Linked DNA regions of Homo sapiens: regions 1, 2 and 4 are each linked to region 3. The links are contacts of gene promoters, found by promoter capture Hi-C in blood cells and fetal thymus (Javierre and others, 2016). All regions are on one chromosome and are shown on one strand. The core of a region is centred on a gene start or on the middle of the fragment in contact, and the rest is flanking DNA. Distances in the headings are between cores, read along the strand shown. Region 1 holds the start of B3GNT3 (UDP-GlcNAc:betaGal beta-1,3-N-acetylglucosaminyltransferase 3). Region 2 holds the start of SLC5A5 (solute carrier family 5 member 5). Region 3 holds the start of NXNL1 (nucleoredoxin like 1). Region 4 has its middle 19 kb from the start of CCDC124.

Region 1 (2,732 bases), core at 116-2,615, 330 kb after region 3:
GACACTATGACATTTCCGGTAATTGCCCTCCATACAGTTTTAATCATGCATTTGCTCTGAGGGTTCACTCCCCAGACCTCTCCCATCCAGAGTACCCAGGGGCTATTTCTTACATTTTACAGGTGAGGAAACTGAGGCACAGACAGGCCACATATACACCTCGGCTTCCTCCTCGGGAAGAAACAGGGATGAAGGAGGAAGGAGGGGTTTCCTGAAACCATAGCCCAGCTCACACACCTGGACTTCCCCAACCCCAGAGCTCCCAACGCTGGGTCCAGGCTAGAATCTCCTAGAGATTCAGAGGCAGCACAGGGCAGGGTTCGAATCCTAGCCAACCCAACCCTAAAAATCTACAAATCTGAGGCCAGGTGCAGTGGCTCACATCTATAATCCAGCACCTTGGGGATCTGAGGCAGGAAGGTCACTTGAGGCCCACAGTTAAGACCAGCCTGGGCAACATATCAAAACCCCATATCTAGAAAAATGACAAAAATTAGCCAGGCATGCTGGCGGGTGCCTGTAGTCCCAGCTACTCGGGAGGCTGAGGTGGGAGGATTGCTTGAACTGGGGAGGTCGACATTGTAGCGAGCGGAGATCACACCACTGTACTCTAGCCTGGGTGACAAAGCGAGATCCTGTCTCTCAAAACAAGAAAAAAAGAAAAAGAAAAGACTACAAATCTGTCTGATTGTTGACTTCCAGAACCCTTCCAAATGCCAGCAGGTGGCATCTGGATGTCTGGGGGCACATCGTAGGTTTTCGGGTCCTGGAATTATTTTCAATATAGAGATGGAATCTCACTATGTTGCCCAGGCTGGTCTCAAACTCCTGGGTTCCAGCGATCCGCCCCCCTCGGCCTCTGGAAGTACAGGAGTGAGCCACTGCGCCGACCCCAGCTTCAGGAATCTTTGAACTCCCCGCAGAGAGCAGAGGTGCCGCAAGGTTTAACCTGCCTCCCTCCCTCCTTATCGCCATGGGCTTATCCAATCATTTCTTCACGGAACACACGTGGGCCAACGCTGACCGGGCTCTGTGCCAGGAACCCGCAAGGCGCTGCTTGTTCATCTCCAGCCACGGGGAGCTCATTCCCTAGCAGCGGGCCAGACCCAAGGTGGGGTCGTGAGCCCCGAGAGGGGCGAGGGTGGCAAGAGCGGGATGGCAGAGGTGGCAGCCGGGACCGGAGAGGGGAAGAGGCATGGCCGGGGAGGGAGGAGCCGGCAGAGAACTTCGCCTGGGCCACCAGGAAACTCAGCCGAGCTGGGAAGAGGGGGACTGGCAAGCGGCCAAGGCGGAGGGAGGCAGGAAGGCGTGAGGCCCGGTGGGAGGGAGGAAGCGGGAGAGGGGCGGGAGCTCTGGCTCAGGTAAAAACTCTTTCTTCGGCTCGCGAGCTGAGAGGAGCAGGTAGAGGGGCAGAGGCGGGACTGTCGTCTGGGGGTGAGTGTCGGCAGCCCCCGGAGGATCTGGCGGACCCCAGTGGTGGGGGTTTGGGGGTGGGGAAGTTGTGGCTCTGGAGAAGCCCCTGCCGGTCTCCACCGCGCATACCCTGCAGATGTGGGAACATTCGGGAGCCCCGAGTCTCGAGAACCCGGTTGCCCTCACCCATCCGTAATTGTCTCCGGCGTTCCCAAGGCCAGCTCGGACCTGGGTCGGGGAGGAAGCCTCCCCCACAGCTGGCGACCCGGGACCCCGGCGCCCCTCCCAGATTGGGCGGGATCAGACCCCCGAGGCGGATGCCGCTTAGTCAGACTTGGCTGTTACTGTTACCTGTGTTGTTGAGATTATTGGCCCCTTGGTTGGGAGTATCTGGGCAAGCCAGCGCTGGGGTCCCCGGTTGGGTTTGGGAACTGCAGGTGACCCCCAGTCTCTCCCTGCGGTTCCGGTGCTGCAGGCCCTGCCAGGTGGCTGGGCGGCATTCCAGGGGCCCTGGCTGCGTGGCATGGACACATTGCTGAACCGGCCTCAGTTTCCCCTCCGTGAGGTGGAACAATGAACCAGCTGGGATGAGGATGCCCGAAGCGTTTAGTCAAAGGAAATTTTTGTGATGAGGTGTACTGCTGGCCACTGGGGGCCCTTGCGTGACTGGCGTTAGGTCTCTGAGCCTCAGTTTCCCTGTGTGTTAAGGGGGGGTCTCATGGCATGGGACCTTGGCGAGGATGAGTTGAGTGGATAGGAGCTGTGGCCACTCAGTGGGTGCCCAGGGACAGTCAGCTGTCATCATAATTATATTAATTATGTCTGTAGCCACTGTTCAGATTCACTCCTGTTCCAAGAATCCCGACCATCTTTTCCTCTGGGTCAGATTTAAACTTTTTGTTTGTTTGTTTTATTTGTAGAGGTGGGGGACTCACTTTGTCACCCAGGCTGGAGTACAGTGGCTCCATGCACTGTATTCACTGCAGCCTCAACCTCCTGGGCTCAAGTGATCCTCCCACCTCAGCCTCCCGAGTAGCTGGGACTACAGGTGCACACCACAGGCAGCTAATTTTAAAATTTTTTTGTGTGTGGAGACGGGGTCTCACTATGTTGTCCAGGCTGGTCTCAAACTCCTGGGCCCAAGCAATCCTCCTGCCTTGGCATCTGAAAGTGCTGGGATTTCAGGCATGAGCCACTATGCCCAGCTCTGATTTTTTTAAATGGACACTTCTCAAGAGGAAACTGAGGTCGCCCCTCAACTTGGGCGGGGGACTCCTGCAGTCCAGATCTGGGATTCAGGGCCCATGGGAAGCCACCTG
Region 2 (2,946 bases), core at 364-2,863, 410 kb after region 3:
ACAGGTCCACCCTGCACAGCAGAGAGGGAGCAAGAGGACTGTCCGGGGGTTACGTGGGGACGCGTTGAGAAACGCTGGACCCAGCTGGAGCGGCCAGGGCAGAGGGTAGGCCAGAGGAGGCCACCAGGGAGCAGCAGAGGCTGGCGAGAAGCGCTCAAAAGCCCTTTTTTTTTTTTTTTTTTTTTTTTTGGAGACGGGGTCTTGCTGTGCTGCCCAGGCTGGAGTGCTGTGCAGTTCTCGACCACAGCTCATTGCAGCCTCGAACTTCCACGCTCAAGCGATCCTCCCACTTCAGCCTCCTGAGTAGCTGGGATTACAGGCATGTGCCACCACGCCTCGCTAATATTTGTATTTTTCATACAGACAAGATCTCACTATGTTGCTCAGGGTAGTCTCGAATTCTGGGACTCAAATGATCCTCCCACTTCAGCCTCCCAAAGTGCTGGGATTACAGGCATAAGCCATCATGCCCGGCCTCTGACGCTGTTTCTTTCAACCCCCAGGATTTCAGATTCCACCAGCTTATGGAGAAGGGAACCAAGTTTGAGATGCGTGATTGCCCAGAAAGTTGGAGGCTGAGCTGAGACTTGAACCCAGAGACCAGAACCTCCAGAGGTCAAAGTCCTCCTGGGTCCCCCAGAGAAGGGCCCTGAGATGACAGCTCGTTGGTCCTCATGGAAGCGTGACCCCCCCAGTAGACTTTCTCCCACACCCAACCTTGGTTTCCTCATCTATATGATAGGGACAAGCCAGACTCTACCTCCCTGGTGGTCATGGTCTCCGCTTATTCGGGTTCATAACCTTAAAGGCCCCTCGCACCACCTCAGTGAGCCATTTATGCCTGGCACAGGGCCAACTCTCAGTGCATATCTGCAAAGGAACCAATGAATGAATGAATGAAGTGACAAATGAATAAAGGAATAAATGAATGAGGCACTTATCATGTACCAGGCTTTCGTTACCACGTCCCATTTATTCCTCTGAGGCAGGGTCTATTTTATCCTTGTTACAGATGGGGAAACTAAGGCCCAGGGAGGAGCAAAGTCTTCCCCAAGTATGTACCCACTCAGAACTTGAGCTCTGAATGTCTCCCACCCAGCTTAGCCCAAGAGCGGGGTTCAGTGATGCCCACCCCCTAAGGCTCTAGAGAAAGGGGGTAGGCCCACATGCCAGTTTGGGGGTGGTAAAGCCAGGTAAGTTTTCTTTATGGGTCCCCTGAAACCCTGAAAGTGAACCCCAGTCCTGCATGAAAGTGAGCTCCCCATAGCTCAAGGTATTCAAGCACAATACGGCTTTGAGTGCTGAAGCAGGCTGTGCAGGCTTGGATAGTGACATGCCCTCTCTGAGCCTCAATTTCCCCACCTGTCAACAGCAGACAGTGACAGCTGTGATCAGGGGATCACAGTGCATGGGGATGGGTGGGTGCATGGGGATGGAGGGGCATTTGGGAGCCCTCCCCGATACCACCCCCTGCAGCCACCCAGATAGCCTGTCCTGGCCTGTCTGTCCCAGTCCAGGGCTGAAAGGGTGCGGGTCCTGCCCGCCCCTAGGTCTGGAGGCGGAGTCGCGGTGACCCGGGAGCCCAATAAATCTGCAACCCACAATCACGAGCTGCTCCCGTAAGCCCCAAGGCGACCTCCAGCTGTCAGCGCTGAGCACAGCGCCCAGGGAGAGGGACAGACAGCCGGCTGCATGGGACAGCGGAACCCAGAGTGAGAGGGGAGGTGGCAGGACAGACAGACAGCAGGGGCGGACGCAGAGACAGACAGCGGGGACAGGGAGGCCGACACGGACATCGACAGCCCATAGATTCCTAACCCAGGGAGCCCCGGCCCCTCTCGCCGCTTCCCACCCCAGACGGAGCGGGGACAGGCTGCCGAGCATCCTCCCACCCGCCCTCCCCGTCCTGCCTCCTCGGCCCCTGCCAGCTTCCCCCGCTTGAGCACGCAGGGCGTCCGAGGACGCGCTGGGCCTCCGCACCCGCCCTCATGGAGGCCGTGGAGACCGGGGAACGGCCCACCTTCGGAGCCTGGGACTACGGGGTCTTTGCCCTCATGCTCCTGGTGTCCACTGGCATCGGGCTGTGGGTCGGGCTGGCTCGGGGCGGGCAGCGCAGCGCTGAGGACTTCTTCACCGGGGGCCGGCGCCTGGCGGCCCTGCCCGTGGGCCTGTCGCTGTCTGCCAGCTTCATGTCGGCCGTGCAGGTGCTGGGCGTGCCGTCGGAGGCCTATCGCTATGGCCTCAAGTTCCTCTGGATGTGCCTGGGCCAGCTTCTGAACTCGGTCCTCACCGCCCTGCTCTTCATGCCCGTCTTCTACCGCCTGGGCCTCACCAGCACCTACGAGGTACCGGACAGAGGCCCGGGGGTAGGACCTGCCCCACTGGCAGTGCTGGGACCCCGTGTGGGGGAGGCGCTGGGGCTTTGGGCCGCTGTACAGGAGGACGCGGATGGCACCTCGGTGCTTTAACGGAAGGGGCCCCTAGGCAGACACGTGGGGAGGGTTCTAGGAAGAGGCCCCAGGCGCCCGGCGAGGGGCAGGAAGGAGGAAGAGAGAGCCTGGCGTCCTGCTCCTTCGGTGGAAGCGCGCGCGGGGCGGGGCCCGGCTCGACCAGGTGTGTCCTCACGGGTGGACACACACCTGCCCCCCACCTGCCCGGGCGTGCAGACCCACGTGTGCGCGCTAGAGGGGACTGCTGACGGCTCCGGGGTTCGAAACCTGGCTTCACTGCTTTCTTGTATCTTGGGCAAGGGGCGTGCCTCTCTGTTTGGGTTTCCCAGCTGTCCAATGGGCGAATTACAGGACCTCCCTCCAGGGGAGAGGGTAAAGCGATTAAAATCGTGACCGGGGCCCGGTGCGGTGGCTCACGCCTGTAATCCCAGCACTTTGGGAGGCCAAAGCATGCAGATCACCTGAGGTCAGGAGTTCAAGACCAGCCTGGCCAACA
Region 3 (2,811 bases), core at 94-2,593:
AATTTTTGTATTTTTAGTAGAGACAGGGTTTTGCCATATTGGTCAGGCTAGTCTCGAACTCCTGACCTCAGGTGATCTGCTCACCTTGGCCTCCCAAAGTGCTAGATTTACAGGTGTGAGCCACCGTACCTGGCCTTACTTTTTTAAGAGACAGGGTCTACCTGTATTGCCCTGGCTGGAGTGCAGTGGTGCGATCATAGCTCACTGCAGCCTCAAACTCTAGGCTCCAGTTATCCTCTTACCATAGCCTCCCAGGTGGCTAGGACTACAGGCATGAGCCACCGTGCCCAGCTAGGGGTCTCTCTTTAAAGCCACTTTTTCGGGGAAGCATCCTCTGACCCCGGAACCTCACCAAGGTTTCCCTCATTGTATTTCCACTTTGTGGCCTAGCTTTGTCCTCTGAGCACTACTGCAATTCGCTATTATATATTTGTTTTTTGATTTTTTAGACAGAGTCTCCCTCTGTCACCCAGGCTGGAGGGCAGTGGCACGATCTTACCTCACTGCAGCATCTGCCTCCCAGTTTCAAACGATTCTCCTGCCTCAGCCTCCCAAGCAGCTGGGATTACAGGCGCCCACCACCACGCCTGGATAATTTTTGTATTTTTAGTAGAGACAGGGTTTCACTATGTTGACCAGGCTTGTCTCAAACTCCCGACCTCAGGTGATCTGCCCACCTCGGCCTGCCAAAGTCCTGGGATTACAGGGTTAAGCCACCATGCCCGGCCTTGCTATTACATAGTTGATTCTGTCTTTTGCATCTGTTCCTCTCACTCGGCTCTAAGCTCCCTGGGGTGGCATGGAAGCCAGCATGTGGAAGTGGGCACCCCTGTCTGTACCCCCTAGTTCCCAGTATATGGACTGGCACACAGGGGCTGCTCATTCACTCTAGTTAGAATGGATGCTTCACTTTCAGCGAACATGCCCCCTCCTCCAGGAAGCCCTCCCTGCCCCTCCTCACCTCCTCAGATCATCCTCAAAGGGCAGGAAAAGCCATTTCTTTGGCATGTCCTTGAGGAACAGGTCCTGCTGCTCCTCCGTGGAGTCCTGGGACACGTACACCAGGGCCAGCTGAGCCGCCCGCAGTACATAGAACTCATCTGTGAGCCGCACGAAGAAGTCCTTGAGGATGGGCACGAAGGCCTGGCACTGTGGACAAGCCCCAGCACCAAAGAACAGCAGCACCAGCCGGTTCTCCAGCCTGCGACTGACCTCAGCCTCCGTATCCAGCTCGTCCTGGTCGCTATTGTTGCGGATCAGGATGCGGCCAGAGAACAGGGAGGCCATGGTAACCTGGGTTGGGTGCTGGGGACAGCGCGGCGTGTGGTCCCCGGTCTGCTGACTGGCTCCTCTCCCAGAAATAGAAATCTTTAGAAAACCAGCTTAGGACTTCACTAATCTGCCTAAACCTTGACCTGAGGGGCCTCTAAGGGCGGGGGGCAGGGCTCTCTGTGTGGCCCTTCTCAGGAGAGAGCCGCAAACGCATTAAGAAAACACGTAACAGATGGGCACGGTGGCTCACGCCTGTGATCCCAGCACTTTGAGAGGCAGAGGTGGGAGGATCATCTGAGGTCAGGAGTTTGAGACCAGCCTGGCCAACATGGTGAAACCCTGTCTGTACTAAAAAATAAAAAAATTAGCCAGGCGTGGTGGTGGGCACCTGTAATCCCAGCTACTTGGGCAGCCGAGGCAGGAGAATCGCTTGAAGCCAGGAGGCGGAGGTTGCAGTGAGCTGAGATTGTGCCACTGCACTCCAGCCTGGGCGACAGAGCGAGACTCCATCTCAGAAAAAAAAAGAAAGAAAGAAAGAAAAAAAACCAAAAAACCATGTAGCAGACAGTGACTCACGCCTGTAATCTCAGCACTTTGGGAGGCTGAGGCAGGAGGATCACCTGAGACCAGGAGTTTGAGAGCAGCTTGGGCAACAGTGTGAGACCCCATCTCTATGAAAAAATTAAAAACTTAGCTGGGCATGGTGTTGTCATGAGCCTGTAGTCCCAGCTACTCAGCTGAGATGGAAGGATCACTTGAGCCTGGGAGGTTGAGGCTACAATGACTGCACTACTGCACTCCATCCTGGGTGACAGAGCAAGACCTAGTGTCTAAAAATAAAAAATAGGCTGGGCACGGTGGCTCACGCCTGTAATCCCAAAGCTTTGGGAGGTCAAGGTGGGTGGATCACCTGAAGTCAGGAGTTCGAGACCAGTCTGGCCAACATGGAGAAACCCCATCTCTACTAAAAATGCAAAAATTGGCCAGGTGTGGTGGCTCACGCCTGTAATCCCAGCACTTTGGGAGGCTGAGGCAGGTGGATCACAAGGTCAGGAGATCGAGACCATCCTGACTAACACAGTGAAACCCCGTCTCTACTAAAAGTACAAAAAAAATTAGCCGGGTGTGGTGGCGGGCACCTGTAGTCCCAGCTACTCGGGAGGCTGAGGCAGGAGAATGGCGTGAACCCGGGAGGTGGAGCTTGCAGTGAGCCGAGACCGCGCCACTGCACTCCAGCCTGGGTGACAGAGTGAGATTCCGTCTCAAAAAAAAAAAAAAAGCAAAAATTAGACCGGGTGTGGTGGCTCATGCCTGTAATCCCAGCGCTTTGGGAGGCTGAGGCAGGCGGATCACCTGAGGTCAGGAGTTCGAAACCAGCCTGGCCAACATGGTGAAACCCCATCTCTACTGAAAATACAAAAATTAGCGGCTCGTGATGGCACATGCCTGTAATCCCAGCTACTCGGGAGGCTAAGGCAGGAGAACTGCTTGAGCCTGGGAGGCAGAGGTTGCAGTGAGCTGAGATTGCACCACTGCACT
Region 4 (2,700 bases), core at 146-2,645, 450 kb after region 3:
AGTTTTAGGTATGAATGAAGACTAGTCTGTGTGAAAACCTGTAATTGTGCTTTTGAAAAAAGATCTCCAGGTCTTCACAAAACTTTTTATTCCCTGAGGATGCCCCACTGCAAACGCCTGTGAAGCTGGAGTGCCAGACACTGAGGCCTGAGGCTGGGGGACACAGAGGCTACCAGCTTGCTTGGACCTCCTCAATCTGTCAAAGAAACTGGCTTGGGGACCACTGGAGGACCCAAATCTCCCTCTTCTCTGGGCAGTGGGTCTTGTGCATGCTGGCCTTGGACCTACTGAAGGCCCTTCCAGCCCCAGTGCTATTCTCTGAATTCATGGGGAGCAGAGGTGTTGGGACTGAGTCCTGTTGGAGACTCCAGAAACACTGACGTTTCTTGTTTGGTCCTGGGGTTAGGTAACGACGGCTGTTTCTTTTTTTCTTTCTTTCTTTCTTTTTTTTTTTTTTTTTTTTGAGGTGGAGTCTTGCTCTGTCACACGGGCTAGAATACAGTGGTGTGATCTTGGCTCACTGCAACCTCCACCCCCTGGGTTCAAGCGATTCTCCTGCCTCAGCCTCTCGAGTAACTGGGATTACAGGCATGCACCACTACCCCCAGCTAATTTTGTATTTTTAGTAGAGATGGGATTTCTCCATGTTGGTCAGGTTAATCTCAAACTCCTGAGCTCAGGTGATCCACCCACCTCGGCCTCCCAAAGTGCTGGGATTACAGGTGTGAGCCACCACACCTGGCCAGCAATTTATTTTTAGTCAGTTGTGGACTATCCTGGGTGGCTCCTGCCTAGATTATTCTAAGAATTTCTTTTTTCTTTTTTTTTTATTTTAAGACAAGGTCTTACTCTGTCGCCCAGGCTGGAGTGCAGTGATGTGATCTTGGCTCATTGCAACCTCCACCTCCCCAGTTCAAGCAATTCTCCTGCCTCAGCCTCCCAAGTAGCTGGGATTACAGGCACCTGCCACCGTACCCAGCTAAGTTTTGTATTTTTAGTAGGGACGGCATTTCACCATGGTGGCCAGGCTGGTCTTGAACTGCTCATCTCAGGTGATCCACCCACCTCGGCCTCCCAAAGTGCTGGGATTACATGCTTGAACCACCGGCGCCTGGCCTATTCTAAGAATTTCACCATTTGGACAGCTATTAGCCAGCTTTGGTTGGTCATGTGGGTCCCCACTGCATTCAACTCAGTCCTAGCCTGATCTTCAGTTTCCAACAATATCATAATATCATTGAGATAGTGTATTATTACACTTAAGATCTGCACCAAGTCCAAATCCCACTTCTGACACCAAAAGTAAAAAGAAAACATAAATTAATTTTTTTTTCTGCTCACACATCACTCAACACAACATTCCTTTCTTTTCTTTTTTCTTTTTTGAGACGGAGTCTCATTCTGTCACCCAGGCTGTAGTGCAATGGCGTGATCTCTGCTCACTGCAACCTTCTGCCTCCCGGGTTCAAACGATTCGCCTACCTCGGCCTCCCGTGTAGCTGGGACTACAGGTATGCACCACCATGCCCAGCTAACTTTTGTATTTTTAGTAGAGATGGAGTTTCACCATGTTGCCCAGGCTGGTCTCGAACTCCTGACCTCAGGTGATCTGCCAGCCTCAGACTCCCAAAGTGCTGGGATTACAGGCATGAGCCACTGTGCCCAGCCTTAACACAACATTTCTGACACCAGATGTATGGGAACTTTTCCAAACGTCAAGTAATTCTCCAGCAGACACCAGCTGGGTGGGGTTTTTTGTTTGATTTTTTTGTCTTTTTATTTTTTTAGGTGGGTGTTTTTAAATTCAATTCAGTTCAGAAGCTATCTACCTGAAGATAGTATCAGATCCCATAGGTTAAGGGCTCAGTCCCACAAGATGGTCCCTACTGCAGATGCCATCTGCAAACAGTAGGTTTTCACCTGTACTTCTAATGCACTGGCTGTAAATCAAGACTCCCTTAGGCTGGGCACAGAGTCCCCTCCTGTAATCCCAGCACTTTGGGAGGCCAAGGTGGGAAGATCACTTGAGCTCAGGAGTTTGAGACCAGCCTGGGCAACATGGTGAAACCCCATCTTTACAAAAAATACAAAAAATTAGCTGGGCATAGTGGTGTGCACCTGTGGTCCCAGTTACTTAGGAGGCTGAAATGGGAGAATCGCTTGAGCCCAGGAGGTGGAGGTTGCCGTGAGCCAAGATCGCATCATTGCACTCCAGGCTGGGCAACAGAGCAAGACCCCATCTTAAAAAAAAATGGTGGCTGGCCGCAGTGGCTCATGGTTGTAATCCCAGCACTTTGGGAGGCCAAGGTGGGCAGATCACCTGAGGTCAGGAGTTCAAGACCCGTCTCTACTAAAAATACAAAAATTAGCTGGGTGTGGTGGCATGTGCCTGTAATCCCAGCTACTCAGGAGGCTGAGACAGAAGAATCACTTGAACCCAGGAGGCGGAGGTTGCAGTGAGCCGAGATTGCACCATTGCACTCCAGCCTGGGCAACAAGAGTGAAAATGTCATCTCAAAAACATTTTTTTAAGTACTATTTTTTTAAAGAAGTGGGGGTGGCCAGGTGCAGTGGTTCACACCTGTAATCCCAGCACTTTGGGAGGCCAAGGTGGGAGAATCAGTCAAGCTCAGGAATTCAAGACCAGATAGCACAACATGGTGAAACCCTATCTCTACAAAAAAATACAAAAAAATAGCC

Evidence for each region. Contacts are between HindIII fragments. The CHiCAGO score rates a contact against its expected background, and 5 or more counts as called.
Region 1: the fragment with the promoter of B3GNT3 here is called in contact with the fragment with the promoter of NXNL1 in region 3 in 1 of 17 cell types (endothelial precursors); the score reaches 5.3 in endothelial precursors.
Region 2: a contact is called between the fragment with the promoter of SLC5A5 here and the fragment with the promoter of NXNL1 in region 3, in 3 of 17 cell types (naive CD4 T cells, M0 macrophages and erythroblasts). The highest score is 5.5, in naive CD4 T cells.
Region 4: a fragment that was not itself captured here is called in contact with the fragment with the promoter of NXNL1 in region 3 in 4 of 17 cell types (naive CD8 T cells, erythroblasts, M2 macrophages and 1 more); the score reaches 5.7 in naive CD8 T cells.

Annotation. Positions count from the first base shown.
Region 1 is chr19:17,793,773-17,796,504 of GRCh38, forward strand. B3GNT3 (UDP-GlcNAc:betaGal beta-1,3-N-acetylglucosaminyltransferase 3) reads left to right here and starts at 1,366. Exons shown (of 3, transcript NM_014256.4): 1 at 1,366-1,434. RefSeq lists enhancers at 564-1,261, 1,262-1,959. The HindIII fragment of the contact is 23,173 bases long and covers 1-2,732 here.
Region 2 is chr19:17,870,332-17,873,277 of GRCh38, forward strand. It overlaps SLC5A5 (solute carrier family 5 member 5), which reads left to right and starts at 1,614. Exons shown (of 15, transcript NM_000453.3): 1 at 1,614-2,345. The coding sequence starts at 1,989. The HindIII fragment of the contact is 10,072 bases long and covers 1-2,946 here.
Region 3 is chr19:17,459,583-17,462,393 of GRCh38, forward strand. NXNL1 (nucleoredoxin like 1) reads right to left here and starts at 1,344. Exons shown (of 2, transcript NM_138454.2): 1 at 962-1,344. The coding sequence starts at 1,287. RefSeq lists an enhancer at 1,250-1,750. The HindIII fragment of the contact is 2,658 bases long and covers 1-2,152 here.
Region 4 is chr19:17,912,230-17,914,929 of GRCh38, forward strand. No RefSeq gene overlaps it. Among named protein-coding and RNA genes, the nearest start is that of CCDC124, 19 kb to the right of the region's middle. The HindIII fragment of the contact is 4,460 bases long and covers 1-2,700 here.